Linked DNA regions of Homo sapiens: regions 1, 3 and 4 are each linked to region 2. Evidence: promoter capture Hi-C in human tissues and cell types (Jung and others, 2019). All regions are on one chromosome and are shown on one strand. Each heading gives the region's core, a stretch centred on a gene start or on the middle of the fragment in contact. The rest is flanking DNA. Distances are from core to core; before and after follow the strand shown.

Evidence for each region. Contacts are between HindIII fragments. The study calls those that stand out against the background at their distance.
Region 1: a contact is called between the fragment with the promoter of HAGH here and the fragment with the promoter of CEMP1 in region 2, in 1 of the 25 tissues and cell types used here (lymphoblastoid cells).
Region 3: a contact is called between the fragment with the promoter of NDUFB10 here and the fragment with the promoter of CEMP1 in region 2, in 2 of the 25 tissues and cell types used here (lymphoblastoid cells and spleen).
Region 4: the fragment with the promoter of ZNF598 here is called in contact with the fragment with the promoter of CEMP1 in region 2 in 3 of the 25 tissues and cell types used here (IMR-90 fibroblasts, lymphoblastoid cells and spleen).

Annotation. Positions count from the first base shown.
Region 1 is chr16:1,825,151-1,828,301 of GRCh38, forward strand. It overlaps HAGH (hydroxyacylglutathione hydrolase), which reads right to left and starts at 1,675. Exons shown (of 9, transcript NM_005326.6): 1 at 1,562-1,675. The coding sequence starts at 1,637. FAHD1 (fumarylacetoacetate hydrolase domain containing 1) reads left to right here and starts at 2,056. Exons shown (of 1, transcript NM_031208.4): 1 at 2,056-3,151. The coding sequence starts at 2,089. The coding sequence ends at 2,754. RefSeq lists a silencer at 1,026-1,995 and an enhancer at 2,086-2,275. The HindIII fragment of the contact is 9,774 bases long and covers 1-3,151 here.
Region 2 is chr16:2,530,143-2,533,737 of GRCh38, forward strand. It overlaps CEMP1 (cementum protein 1), which reads right to left and starts at 1,266. Exons shown (of 1, transcript NM_001048212.3): 1 at 1-1,266. The coding sequence starts at 931. The coding sequence ends at 188. It overlaps AMDHD2 (amidohydrolase domain containing 2), which reads left to right. Exons shown (of 11, transcript NM_001330449.2): 11 at 1-1,275. MIR3178 (microRNA 3178) reads right to left here and starts at 1,863; the gene lies at 1,780-1,863. RefSeq lists enhancers at 1,669-1,718, 2,497-3,198, 2,499-2,548. The HindIII fragment of the contact is 25,225 bases long and covers 1-3,595 here.
Region 3 is chr16:1,958,240-1,960,787 of GRCh38, forward strand. NDUFB10 (NADH:ubiquinone oxidoreductase subunit B10) reads left to right here and starts at 1,299. Exons shown (of 4, transcript NM_004548.3): 1 at 1,299-1,515. The coding sequence starts at 1,386. RefSeq lists an enhancer at 1-356 and silencers at 1,079-1,388, 1,819-1,928. The HindIII fragment of the contact is 2,906 bases long and covers 266-2,548 here.
Region 4 is chr16:2,008,059-2,011,480 of GRCh38, forward strand. It overlaps ZNF598 (zinc finger protein 598, E3 ubiquitin ligase), which reads right to left and starts at 1,763. Exons shown (of 14, transcript NM_178167.5): 1 at 1,680-1,763; 2 at 1,567-1,678; 3 at 1,466-1,565. The coding sequence starts at 1,689. It overlaps LOC124903626 (a long non-coding RNA gene), which reads left to right and starts at 1,827. Exons shown (of 2, transcript XR_007064941.1): 1 at 1,827-2,044; 2 at 2,250-2,530. RefSeq lists silencers at 1,062-1,131, 1,142-1,571, 1,662-1,881 and enhancers at 1,489-2,437, 1,962-2,121. The HindIII fragment of the contact is 21,988 bases long and covers 1-3,422 here.

The sequences.
Region 1 (3,151 bases), core at 425-2,924, 700 kb before region 2:
TACTAAAAAATACAAAAATTAGCTGGGCGTGGTGGCGAGCGCCTGTAGTCCCAGCTACTCAGGAGGCTGAGGCAGGAGACTCGCTTGAGCCCGGGAGGCAGAGGTTGCAGTGAGCCGAGATTGGCCACTGCACTGCCCAGGCGAAGAAAATGTCATTTACAACTGGTGCTCAGCCTCCCCTGGAGACCATCACAGCCTCCTGAAGAAGCTGACAACCCAGGGAGGTGCCTTTATTTCTGAGGAAAGACGCAGCTGGTGCCAACACCAGCAGAAACCGTATTCCCTTTCCATATCACTCAGCCCAGCACTGCCTGGCAAATGTTCCCGGCTTGCTGTTTTGTAACTGTAATACTTTGTACAAACAGGTCAAGGACCTGCAGCCTGGGGCCTGGACCAAGTCCAGAAACATGTTCGGTTTGGCCCCAAAAACAAAAAAAAATTGAGATATGGTCTCACTCTGTCCCCTAGGCTACAGTGCAGTGGTGCGATCAAGGGTCACTGCAGCCTCGACCTCCTGGACTCAAGCGATCCTCCCACCTCAGCCTCCAAAGTGACTGAGACTACAGTTGTGTGCCACCACGCCCGGCTGATTTTGTTTAGTTTTTGTAGCGATGAGGTCTCAACATGTTGCCAGGCTGGTCTGGAACTCCTGGACTCAAGCGATCCTCCCGCCTCGGCCTCCCAAAGTGCTGGGATGACAGGCGTGCGTCACTGCACTTCTTTTTTAAATCAGGAAGTTTCACAGCATCTTGCTTCCCTTGAACTGGGCGGCACCAAATACGGGGGCTGGGGCCTCCCTTAGAATGGGGTACGCACGCCCTGCCGATGCACACAGTCCCGCTGGAACTCTCTGCCTGGACCCTTATGAATGTCCCTAAAACTGTAATTCTGAGGACCTCAAAATCCATGTCCTTTCCTTAGCAATGGCGACATTCTACCCCCTGCAGAGCCTTGACAGCTTTCGGCGAGATCTGGAAACCGCCAGGGACGCCTCCCTGTCTGCGCCTCCGCCCGCCCAGTGCCCTGCGCTGCGCACCCGCCCGGGGCGCTGGCCTGGCCCGGCCGCGCGACCACCTCGGGCGAATGACACGCCGGGTCCCCAGACGGGGGCTCCGGCGCCGGGCGGGCAGCTCCACCACCGCAGGCGGCGCCGCGAGACCGCGGTCCTTGCAGCGGGGCAGCAGGTGCGGGGTGGGCCAGGCGTCCCGGGGCCCTGCCCGCTGCGCCTCAGAGCCGCGCCCCAGGCTCTCCTCGGCGCCGGCCCGGGCAGGACGCGATGCCCTGGAGGCGTCAGGGGCGCGGCCGGCCCAGCCCGAGCGTGGAGGCCGCGGCGGACGCAGGCCTGGCCCTGCTTACCTAGCGCTTTCCGCACCCGCGGCCCCGCGCCCGCTCCGCGCCAGCCTCAGCGCCTGCGCCGCCTCCGCTCGAGCCCGGCAGCGCGGCCTTAGGCACCTGCGCAACAGACACCGCGTCAGCGGTCGCCAAACGACGGCCCGGCGCCGCCCGCTGCCCGCCCCGCCAGGCCCGCGTCCCCCGGCCCGCACCGCCCCGCCGCACCCACCGAGGCCTCGGCGGGCGCAGGCGGCTCCCAGCGCGGCGAGGCTGCGGCGGCCGAGCAGCCCTCGGCCCACCACCATGACCCGGGCCGGGCTGGACTGCCGAGCTGCCCAGGACTGCAAAACACCGGCGTCGGCGCGTCGCAGCCAATCAGCGCCCGCCTCGCGCTGCCCTCAGCCAATCAGCGTCCACCTCGCACCGTCCGCCAACCAATCAACGCGCTCGCGCTCAACTTGTTTTGTCCGCGAGCCCCGACTGCCACGGGCCGGGAGACGGGCCTGGGAGCGGCGGCGGCGGCCCGAGAGCTGCGCCGGGAGAGCTGTGCCGCGAGCCTCCGCCTCTTTTTTGGCACCGCACAGTGGATCCCTGGAGGCCGAGCGCCACGCCGCCCGGGTACCCGGCAGATCGCGAGGTGGAACGGGCCGTCGCTGCGGGGGACAGCGTTCCGAGGCAGTTGGTCCTCTCCGGGATGCCGTAGGCATCAGCTGACCGGCCCAGCCCACGTGACTACAGGGGCACTTGATGGGAATCATGGCAGCATCCAGGCCATTGTCCCGCTTCTGGGAGTGGGGAAAGAACATCGTCTGCGTGGGGAGGAACTACGCGGACCACGTCAGGGAGATGCGCAGCGCGGTGTTGAGCGAGCCCGTGCTGTTCCTGAAGCCGTCCACGGCCTACGCGCCCGAGGGCTCGCCCATCCTCATGCCCGCGTACACTCGCAACCTGCACCACGAGCTGGAGCTGGGCGTGGTGATGGGCAAGCGCTGCCGCGCAGTCCCCGAGGCTGCGGCCATGGACTACGTGGGCGGCTATGCCCTGTGCCTGGATATGACCGCCCGGGACGTGCAGGACGAGTGCAAGAAGAAGGGGCTGCCCTGGACTCTGGCGAAGAGCTTCACGGCGTCCTGCCCGGTCAGCGCGTTCGTGCCCAAGGAGAAGATCCCTGACCCTCACAAGCTGAAGCTCTGGCTCAAGGTCAACGGCGAACTCAGACAGGAGGGTGAGACATCCTCCATGATTTTTTCCATCCCCTACATCATCAGCTATGTTTCTAAGATCATAACCTTGGAAGAAGGAGATATTATCTTGACTGGGACGCCAAAGGGAGTTGGACCGGTTAAAGAAAACGATGAGATCGAGGCTGGCATACACGGGCTGGTCAGTATGACATTTAAAGTGGAAAAGCCAGAATATTGAGTTATTTCTTAACAAGTTTCGAGAGAGAAGGGAGCAAGACAAGAGCAAGCAACGGCTATTAAATGTCACAATCCTTTAATTAGAAACCATTTATTGGCCGGACGCGGTGGCTCACGCCTGTAATCGCAGCACTTTGGGAGGCCGAGGCGGGCGGCTCACGACGTCAGGAGATCCAGACCATCTTGGCTAACAGGGTGAAACCCCGTCTCTACTAAAAATACAAAAAATTAGCCGGGCGTGGTGGCGGGCGCCTGTAGTCCCAGCTACTCTGGAGGCTGAGGCAGGAGAATCAATTGAACCCGGGAGGCGGAGCTTACAGTGAGCTGAGATTGCGCCACTGTACTCCTGGGCAACAGCGAGACTCCGTCTCAAAAAAAAAAAAAAAAAAAGAAACCAT
Region 2 (3,595 bases), core at 16-2,515:
ACTGGGCCCGGGACCCCTGTTTTCTGCTCCCTGGACTGCCTAGCCCTGAGTGCCACGGATGACCAGCGTTCTGTTTTCTCTTCTCAATAACCCTATCTCTTCACACATCCCCAGGCCCAGTGCTTGCCGGCTGTGGTGACCCTGCCTGGTGCTGGAGGGCAGTATGGGAGGCACCAGTGTGCCCTGCTCACCCCATTAGTGTCATCCTGCCATCTTCTGTGTCCCCTTGGCCCTGGCACACACCCATGTGGCAAACACGGGCCGTGAGGCTCCCTGAACAGCTTCGAGGCGGGTGGGCTTCTGGAGCCCTCTTGGCTCTGAGGACAGCCACAGTGGGGTCAGACGTCAGGGATTGGTGCAGCCCCACGTCAGGGGTGATTGTCTTGACTTTCTCTCCATTTGAGTTCTGGGGTGGGTGGCTCCCTTCCCCCTTGCTTACAGGTGCTGTCCTGGGCACAGGAGGTACGCGCCTGGCTCTGCCACTGTTCTCTTCCCTCTGCTGCAAAGCCCAGTTAAGGAAATGTCTCCAGGTCCAAAGAGATAGGATGGTCTGGGCCCCACCTGTTGGAAGGGAACAGCCAGGGAAGAACCACCTGCCTGGGCAGGGCCTCGCCTGAGGGAGGGCCTGGGGCAGGGCACAAGGGGTTGATCTCAGCCCACAAGCCCCAGGGGCAGCCCAGGAAAGCAGGCGACGGATGTGGATCCTGACCTCCTGAGAGGTGTGAGGTGCAGGGATACCCACCTCTGCCTTGACGGCCGCGCACCCCTTAGGAAGTGGCTGTCCAGCGCCTGCCTGTGCTGGGCCTGGGAGAGGAGCTGTCTTGCCAGGGCTCCCAGGCAGGGAGAGGCAGGTGAGGTTCTCAGCCGATGTGTTAGAGGTTGAGCATCGCCTGTGCCCAGCTTGCTGGCTGTCAGTGCTTGATGTGCCCATCCTCAGCTAAAACCCAGAGCTGGCATGTTGGTCATCCCCACCTCAGACGGGACGCCCAGTCCAGAGCTGGTGAGCCCTGGGCCAGCCTTTGGGCCTGGCCTGCCCCATTCACCGGCCAGCGCCCCACCTCCCTGGCTGGAGGGTCGGGGAGGGGCTGGCAGAGATGGTTGGTCCACAGGGCTAGCCCTGGGTGGTGGGAGAGGGGCCCAGGGTCAGGGTGAGAGAGAGCTGGGCCAGGGAGCTGCTGCAGGATGATTTTGAGGTGTGGGGGAAGCACTCTTGGTTGGTTTTGGTTTGCTTTTTAAAAATTGTGGTAAAATACATAACAAAAGTAACTATCGTAACCTGAGCAGTTCTGTGACATGAAGTGAATTCACTGCTTTGTGTGACCTTGGCCACCATCATTCCCCACCACTCACTCCCGCTGGGCTCCCAGCCCTGCCCCACCATTCCGCTCCCTCTACAGCTATGGGTTTTACAAAGAAGGATGCAGGGCGCCCTGACTGCGGGGTGAGGGGCAGGCCTGCCCGCGGTGTGGGCATTCGCTGAAGGGGGACGCCCAGGTGTCTGCCTGAGTTACGGGTTGGGGGGTCGGGCATGTGGGGAGGGATGGAGTTGGAGGTGCATGCTCTCAGAGCTGGTAGGGGTGGCCCGTTTCGTCCCGTGTGTGAACTGGAGATGAGACCCGGCGCCTGCGATCCCGCAGACCGCGCCCGGCCGGGTGTCACTTGTGGGCGCACGCTGCCGGGATGCTGGGCCGAGCCCGCGGTTTAAGACCCAGATCTCAGCCAGGTCCCTTTCGCCGTCCGAGCCTCTGCACCTCGTGGGCTCCGAGCACATCCAGGCCAGAGACTGCGTTTGGGGCGTGGGCACGGGAGACCGTCATCAGCCAGGACGCTCTCGACCGATCCGGCCGCGCCCCGCCCAGCCTCGTAGCGCAGGCGCTGAGTCCAGGCTGACGCGCAACTCTGGGAGCGTTGCGGCACGCGGGGCCTTGCCTACTGTGGGAGGGGCTTCTGGGGGCGGGCTTCTGTCGGGCCAATTAGGATCGCCGCAGGGAAGGCACGCGCCGCGGCTGAGCAACAGGGGCGCGCGTCACCTTCTCTAGTTAACCCGCGCGGCCCCGGGCACAGAGCCCGAGGCTGCGCGGTCCCCGGCGGGCCCGCGGACCCCCCCCATCTCTGCGCCCCCCACATCTCTGCGGACCCCGCCTCGCCCCAGCCCTCCCATCCACAACCCTCACAACCTTGCATACCCCGCTACGCTCCCCACCGCGCCCTCACATTCCTGCAGACCCCGTCTCCCCACAACGCTCCCCGCCAACGCTGCGGAGCTCCGCGTCGCCCCAGCGCTCCCTGCCAAGCCCCCCACACCCCTGTAGACCCCGCCTCGCCCCAACCCTCCGAGCTGCTCCCCTTATACCCTTGCGGACCTAGTTTGTTTCGTCCCAGTCCTCCCCGTCGCGTCTCCCACATCCCTGCGGACCTCCCCGCGCCTCGCCTCTCCCTTCTGTTACGTATCACGCACAGGTGGATCCCACTACGACCCAGCTTGGCTCCTGTCCCGCACCTCCGCACCTGGCCTCTAGCCCCGCCCTCACTGTCTTGGGAAATGAAGCGGAGGGGTGGGCCGGACACTCTAGAAGCACCCTGGCTCGGAGCTTCCCTAGCTCGGAGTTGGTTTGGAGCCCAGGCTAGGGACCCAGGGTGGGCGCAGCAGGGGAGATTGGCACCAGAAGCGTGGAGGAAGGGCACCTCTTCAGCCCGGCTTTTCCGCCCCTGGAGTCTGGGACAGCTCCGGAGCGTCCGGGTACTCCCTCCCAGACTGGCCCTGTTCCTTTTATCACATTTATGTCACACACGTTTTTTCTAAATGGGTTTACACTTTTGCTATTACTTTGCAGTTCGGTTTGTGTGTGTGTGACGGAGCCTGGCTGTGTTGCGCAGGCTGGAGTGCAGTGGTGCGATCTCTGCTCACTGCAGCTTCCGCCTCCCGGGTTCAAGCGATTCTCCGCCTCAGCCCCCTTAGTAGCTGGGATTACAGGCGCACGCCACCACACCTGACTAATTTTTTTGTATTTTTGGTAGAGACAGGGTTTCACTATGTTGGCCAGGCTGGTCTTGAATTCCTGACCTCAATTGATTCGCCCGCCTAGGCCTCTGAAAGTGCTGGGATTACAGGCGTGAGCCACTGTGCCCAGCCTTTTTTTTTTTTTTTTTTTAACACGGAGTCTCATTCTGTTGCCCAGCCCGGCGCGATCCTGGCTCACTGCAACCTCAGCCTCCTGGGTTCAAGTGATTCTCCTGCCTCAGCCTTCCCAGTAGCTGGGATTACAGGCATGCACCAACACGCCCAGATTTTTTTTTTTTTTTTTTTTTTTTTTTTTTTTAGTAGAGACAGGGTTTTACCATGTTAGCCAGGCTAGTCTCGAACTCCTGACCTCACGTGATGTGCGTGCCTCGGCTTCCCAAAGTGCTGGGATTACTGGTGTGAGCCACCACGCCCAGTTTTTTTTGTTTGTTTGGTTTTTTTTGAGACAGAGTCTCACTCTGTCGTCCAGGCTGGAGTGCAGTGATGCTACCTCAGCTGACTGCAAACTCACTGAACCTCTCAGGTTCAAGTGATCCTCCTGCCTCAGCCTCCAGTTCCTGGCTAATTTTTTTA
Region 3 (2,548 bases), core at 49-2,548, 570 kb before region 2:
CTGGAGCAGGGGGCGGCGCTCGTCGGGGAGGTTCGGGCCGCACAGGAGCCCACGGAGTGGGGGAGGCTCAGGCATGGCGGGCTGTAGGTCCCGAGCCCTGCCCCGCGGGGAGGCAGCTAAGGCCTGGCGAGAGAAATCGAGCGCAGCGCCGGTGGGCCGGCCTGCTGGGGGACCCAGCACACCCTCCGCAGCCGCTGGCCCGGGTGCTAAGCCCCTCATTGCCCAGGGCCGGCAGGGCCGGCCAGGCTCTCCGAGTGCGGGGCCCGCCGAGCCCACACCCACCTGGAATTCGCGCTGGCCCGCAAAGCACCGCGCGCAGCCCCGGTTCCCGCCTGCGCCTCTCCCTCCACACCTCCCCGCAAGCTGAGGGAGCCCGCTCTGGCCTTGGCCAGCCCAGAAAGGGGCTCCTCAAGTGCCGCCAAAGTGGGAGCCCAGGCAGAGGAGGCGCCGAGAGCGAGCGAGGGCTCTGAGGACTGCCAGCACGCTGTCACCTCTCACTGTTTGTCTGTAGGGTTGATGGTTCTGTGTCGCTGGCCTCAACCTCAGGACAGGACATGACCAGTGTCCCCCCTGGATAGCAGCCAGGGGCCGTGCCAGGTGTGGAGACTGAAGATGTGGCCAGCAGGACCCTGCTCAGTGGAGCTGCCTAGAAGCACCAGAGTGCCCCAGGGCCAGGATGGAACCATCAAAGCCGGCCAGAGGGCCCTGTGCCCAGGGTAGGTGCCTTCTCCCTATGAGCCGCCTAAGGGCAAGCCCTGCCTCCTGGTCTGCTCCCTGCCCTCCCCCAGACAGGCTCCCAAGTTAACTGGCACCAGCCAGTCCATGAGGGGCCCTTGTAGAGAGCGGGGCCCAGAGAAGTCTGTAGGGACTAGGCAATCCAGGAAAGCTTCCTGGAGGAGTAGGGTGTTTGGAATCGCGTGCTATTTGTTCACTTTGTCGTGTGCGCTCTAACGGCCTGTGTTCTCCATCACAGTTTATCTTATTCCCTGCTGCACTCAGCACAGTGCCTGGCGCGCAGTGGGAACCGAATGACCCCCTCCTATTCCTTATGTCAGTTGCCTTTTGTCTGTTTCTTTCATCGTAAGCAGGAATCTGTCCGGTTCGCGGCTGCTTCCCAGGCGCCCAGACCAGCGACCAGCACCGCGTAGGCGCTCGGCACAGACCGAGAACGGAGGCCCCACGCGGGGGCGCCCTGCGGCGAGGCGGGTCCCGGCCGCGCCCGGCGGAGCCGGGGAACTACAAGTCCCATGGTGCATCGCGGCGCCAGCGCGCAGACGCAGCCGCCCTCGGCGTCCTCTGTAGCGGGCGACCTAGGCCGCGGGACCCGGACGGAGGTAGAGGCCAGGGCAGCGCGTCCGGGAGCGGAGTCCGCGCCCGCCGCCGCCATGCCGGACAGCTGGGACAAGGATGTGTACCCTGAGCCCCCGCGCCGCACGCCGGTGCAGCCCAATCCCATCGTCTACATGATGAAAGCGTTCGACCTCATCGTGGACCGACCCGTGACCCTCGTGAGAGGTACGAAGCCCCAGCCCGGGGCTCCCTCGCCGGCCTCTGGGGACCCCTGGATCCCACACCCTGCCTGGATCCTCCAATGCCTCCGGGGTCCCGTCTGCCTGAGACCGCCCCCCGCTGCACCCCGGGGACAACTCCCCACCCCCGGAGACCTCCGAGCTCCGTCGCCTCCTTTGGCCTCCCACTGCACCCCGGACCTCACCTCCCAGGATCCCTTACTCTCCCCTGCACCCCGGGATGCCCCGCTTCTTCCCAGGACTCTTCCCTCCCTGCCGCACCCAGCGCCCACTGCCCCAGGACCCCGCACTGCTCTCCGCCCCCCGCCGCCCCGGGCACCCCTCCACTGCACCGCTGGCCTCAGGCCTCTCTCAAATGTCTCTCTGCCGGATGACCAAGTGTCGGGGTGATGGCCGAGATGCCCAAATTCAGCATCTCTGGAACGAACCGGGAAAATGCCCAGTTCAGTTTTTGTTGTTTTTTTTTTTCCTGAGACAGTCTCACTCTGTTGCCCAGGCTGGAGTGCAGTGGCGCGATCTCGGCTCACTGCAACCTCTGCCCCACCCCGGGTTCAAGCGATTCTCCTGCCTCAGCCTCCCCAGTACTAGGATTACAGGCGCACCACCACCACGCCCAGCTAATTTTTATATTTTTAGTAGACACGGGGTTTCACCATGTTGGCCAGGCTGGTCTCGAACTCCTGACCTCAGGTGATCCTCCCACCTTGGCCCCCAGGTGCTGGGATTACAGGCCTGAGCCACCGTGTCCAGCCTGGTTCAGTTCTTTTTGAACACTTGGGGTGCATAGCATGCTCTGGTGGTTCTTCCGTAAGAGGGTGAAGTCTCCAAATCAAACCCCCAAAGATCTGGAAACCGTGCAACAGCGGACCCAGCTCCCTCTCTTTTGTAGCAGTTGTAGAGCATGTCTGTCCTATGTGTCTGGATGTTCGAGCTCTCCTTTTAGCTCGTTCATTTCCCAGTGAGGAAGCTGAGGCCGTAAGGTGGTAAGTTCTGCTTGCTGGAGGCTCCCTGTTGGAGCC
Region 4 (3,422 bases), core at 513-3,012, 520 kb before region 2:
CTGGGGGCACCCAGTGCCAAACCACACCCCGGCTGACAGCTCATGTCCGCAGCCCCCAGCCACAGAGCTCCTGGAGGGCGTGGGGCCTACAAGGAATGAGAGCGGGCAGAGGCTGCCACAGTAAGCATACGCAGATGTTCACTCATGTCTTGCATCAGACCTGCAGCCTGGGTCGGGACCTCACGTGCCAAGAACTCCTTAGCGTCTTCTTTCCGGAAGGAAGCTACAGGTGTGCTGGGAAACCTAGCTGTTGGAGAGTGAGGTCATGCTATGCAGGACTGGCTGGCAAGGCAGGCCCTGGCAAAGCCAGGAAGCGCCCTGAGGAAGCCACGGGCCAAGGTCCTCTGTGACTGTTCCTGCACCCCAGATCTCCCCGGGGTCTGGGTCGGCCTCCTCCTGTCACATGACAGACTGATAGAATCTCCAAATGTCTTTTTCCAAAAAGGGCACAGACTATAAGCCCACAAATTGCTCAGAGAATTGCAGCATCTCTTCAACTCCTTTGATGTAAACGTCTACTTAAAGAAAGAAAAGGAAAAAAAGAAAGAACCTACACCTCAATACTGCTCTGCATCACTTCTGGGGAGAAGAAAGTTAGATTCCTGGCAGATGTCACCAGCCGAAGCCTTCTATGAACAAACCGGGGGAATTTCACAATGCTGGAAGCAAACAAATCTCTAAGCTCAGCAAACCAACGGGCTCCAGCCAGGTGCCCACAGCCAGCAGCTGGCAGTGCAGTGAGGGTGGAGGAACGCTGCATGGTACCCTCTGACCCCTCCACGGCTTCCAAGTCTGTACAGTCAAAAACGTCTCCCATTCACTGCGGAGATGAGCGCCAAAGGCGGGGGGCGGCGGCGAGGAGGAGGACAACTTCCTAACACTTTTCTCCCTTCCCGCCAAGAAGCGCGAGGGGGCCTTCCCCTCCGACGGGCAGGTCTCCTTCCGAGGCTAGTGTCACCTCCACTCCACAGAGGAAAACGTCAGTCTCGGAAGGAGTTTGCTCAGGGTCATCCAATGGGGGCCCAGAAACACAGCTGGGCTGAGAATGCCCAGAGTTTGACGCCCTGCTTCCAGGACGGATGGCCTCCGCAGAGTCCCCCTTGCCTTGTTTCCTCGAATGGAGGACCCTGGAAAATAAACTCCTGAAGACGAGCAGGTCACCGAGTTCTCCATCTGATCAGGACCCTTCCTGAGGCCCGGCAGGAACCCCCGGGACACGGGGGAAGTCCCCAGGCTGTCCCCACAGGGCTTGCCCCCTCCTGCAACCCGCTCGGCCGCCTCCGGCCTCCAAGCCCCAACGCCCCGCCGTCAGCCGCACGGCCGGGACCCCGCCCTGGGTGGCCCCACCAGGCCTCTCTCGGAAGCCGGCGCCGCCGGGCCCACGGCCGGACCTCAGTGAGGCAAAGTCCCCATCCGGTCGCCGGGAGCCCCGCTGCCCCCGGGCCGCGCCCCCGGCGCCCCGCACCTGGCGCAGCTCCTCGCGGCACACGGCGCAGTAGCGCTGCTCGCAGAGCACCCGCATCTTGGTAGAGCAGCGGTAGCACACCGGGTGGTCGCAGCGGCCCCAGCGCCGTGGCCTCCAGGTCTCCGCAGCACAGCACGCAGCTCCCGCCTCCCCGCTCAGGAGCTGCCGCCGCCTCCGCCTCCATGTCCGCGCGCCGCCCCTCGGCGCCCCCCGGCCGCCGCCATGGTCCGGGATCCGGCCCCCCTCTCGGCCGGTCGTGGCGCCGAGCGGCCTGGCTCCCGGCGGGCCCGCCCCTTCCGGGCAAACGTCACCGCCCCACCCAGCAACGGGCCCGCCCGGCGCAAGTGCGCGTCGCGACTTCCGCCTCAGCGCGGCGCCGGCTAGAGCGGTGGCCCTGATAGAGGCCGCTCTACCATGAGCCGACCGCTCGAAGGTCCGCGCGGCCACGCGGCCAGCCCCGGGCTCCTCTGGGCCACGCGTGTCACGTCAACACTCGCCGGGCTCCACGAACTGGCGTTGTCAGATGAAACACGGCACAACTGGTTTGCATCTCAGATGAACAAGGGGTCATGTCTTAGTGTAAGTATAGCCCAAATATTGATGGGCTAGGCTCATACTAAAATGCTGCTCCTTATCTGAAATTGACATTTAAGTGGACCTGCCGTATTTGTATTTGCTAAATCTGGCCACCTTATTAGGAAACCGGTCTCTGGTATTTGGAACACACACAAGCGTGGTCCCGCCTCCACTTCCCTAATGCCCTGTTTAAATCCCTACATGAAAGACAACGTGAAAGGCAGCACGTGGTGACGTCCATCTCGCAGCCCAGGGCAGTCTCGCCAGGCCTGCCCAGAAGGGGCCTCTGGAAGGCACGAACGGAACCTGTCCTCTTTACGCTGGGCCCAGCACAGGACGTGTTTGGATGGATGCTGCAGTAACAGGGCCTCCTCCCTACCCTTGAGGGCCAGGCACACTCAGGACCTCCCTCCCTCTGCCATCCAGAAGGCAGGTCCAGATCTAAACCCTACTGGAAAAGAGGCAGTAAATTGTATCAATGAGCCTGAACTTTACTTACTTTATTTGAGACCGGGTCTTGCTCTTGCTGTAACACAGTGGTACGATCACAGCACACTGAGGCCTCAACCTCCTGGGCTCAAGTGATCCATGCCCAGTGAACTTGGACTTTAGAAACAGACACAAATGGGCTTGAAACCCCAATTTTGCCACTTGAAAAAAGCTGTCAGGCACAGTGGCTCAAGCCTGTAATCCCAGCAGTTTGGGAGGCTGGGTGGCCCGGATTGCTGGAGCCTGGGAATTTGAGACCAGCCTGGCCTACACAGTCAGGCTCCATCTCCACAAAAAAAATTTTTAGGCCGGGCGTGGTGGCTCACGCCTGTAATCCCAGCACTTTGGGAGGTTGGGATCACCTGAGGTCAGGAATTGGAGACAAGCCTGACCAAAATGGTGAAACCCCATCTCTACTAAAAATACAAAAATTAGCCGGGCGTGGTGACATGTGCCTGTAGTCCCAGCTACTCGGCAGCCTGAGGCAGTAGAATCTCTTGAAACCGTGAGGCAGAGGTTGCAGTGAGCCGAGATCACGACAATCACGCCACTGCACTCCAGCCTTGGCAACAGAGCGAGACTCCATCTCAAAAAAAAAAAAAAAAACACACACGACTAGAGTGCAGTGGCGTGATCTCGGCTCACTGCAAGCTCCGCCTCCCGGGTTCACGCCATTCTCCTGCCTCAGCCTCCTGAGTAGCTGGGACTACAGGCACCCGCCACCACGCCCTGCTAATTTTTTTTTTTTATTTTTAGTAGAGACAGGATTTCACCATGTTCGCCAGGATGGTCTCGATCTCCTGACCTCTTGATCCACCTGCCTTGGCCTCCCAAAGTGCTGGGATTACAGGCATGAGCCACTGTGCCTGGCCAAAACACACAAAAATTAACG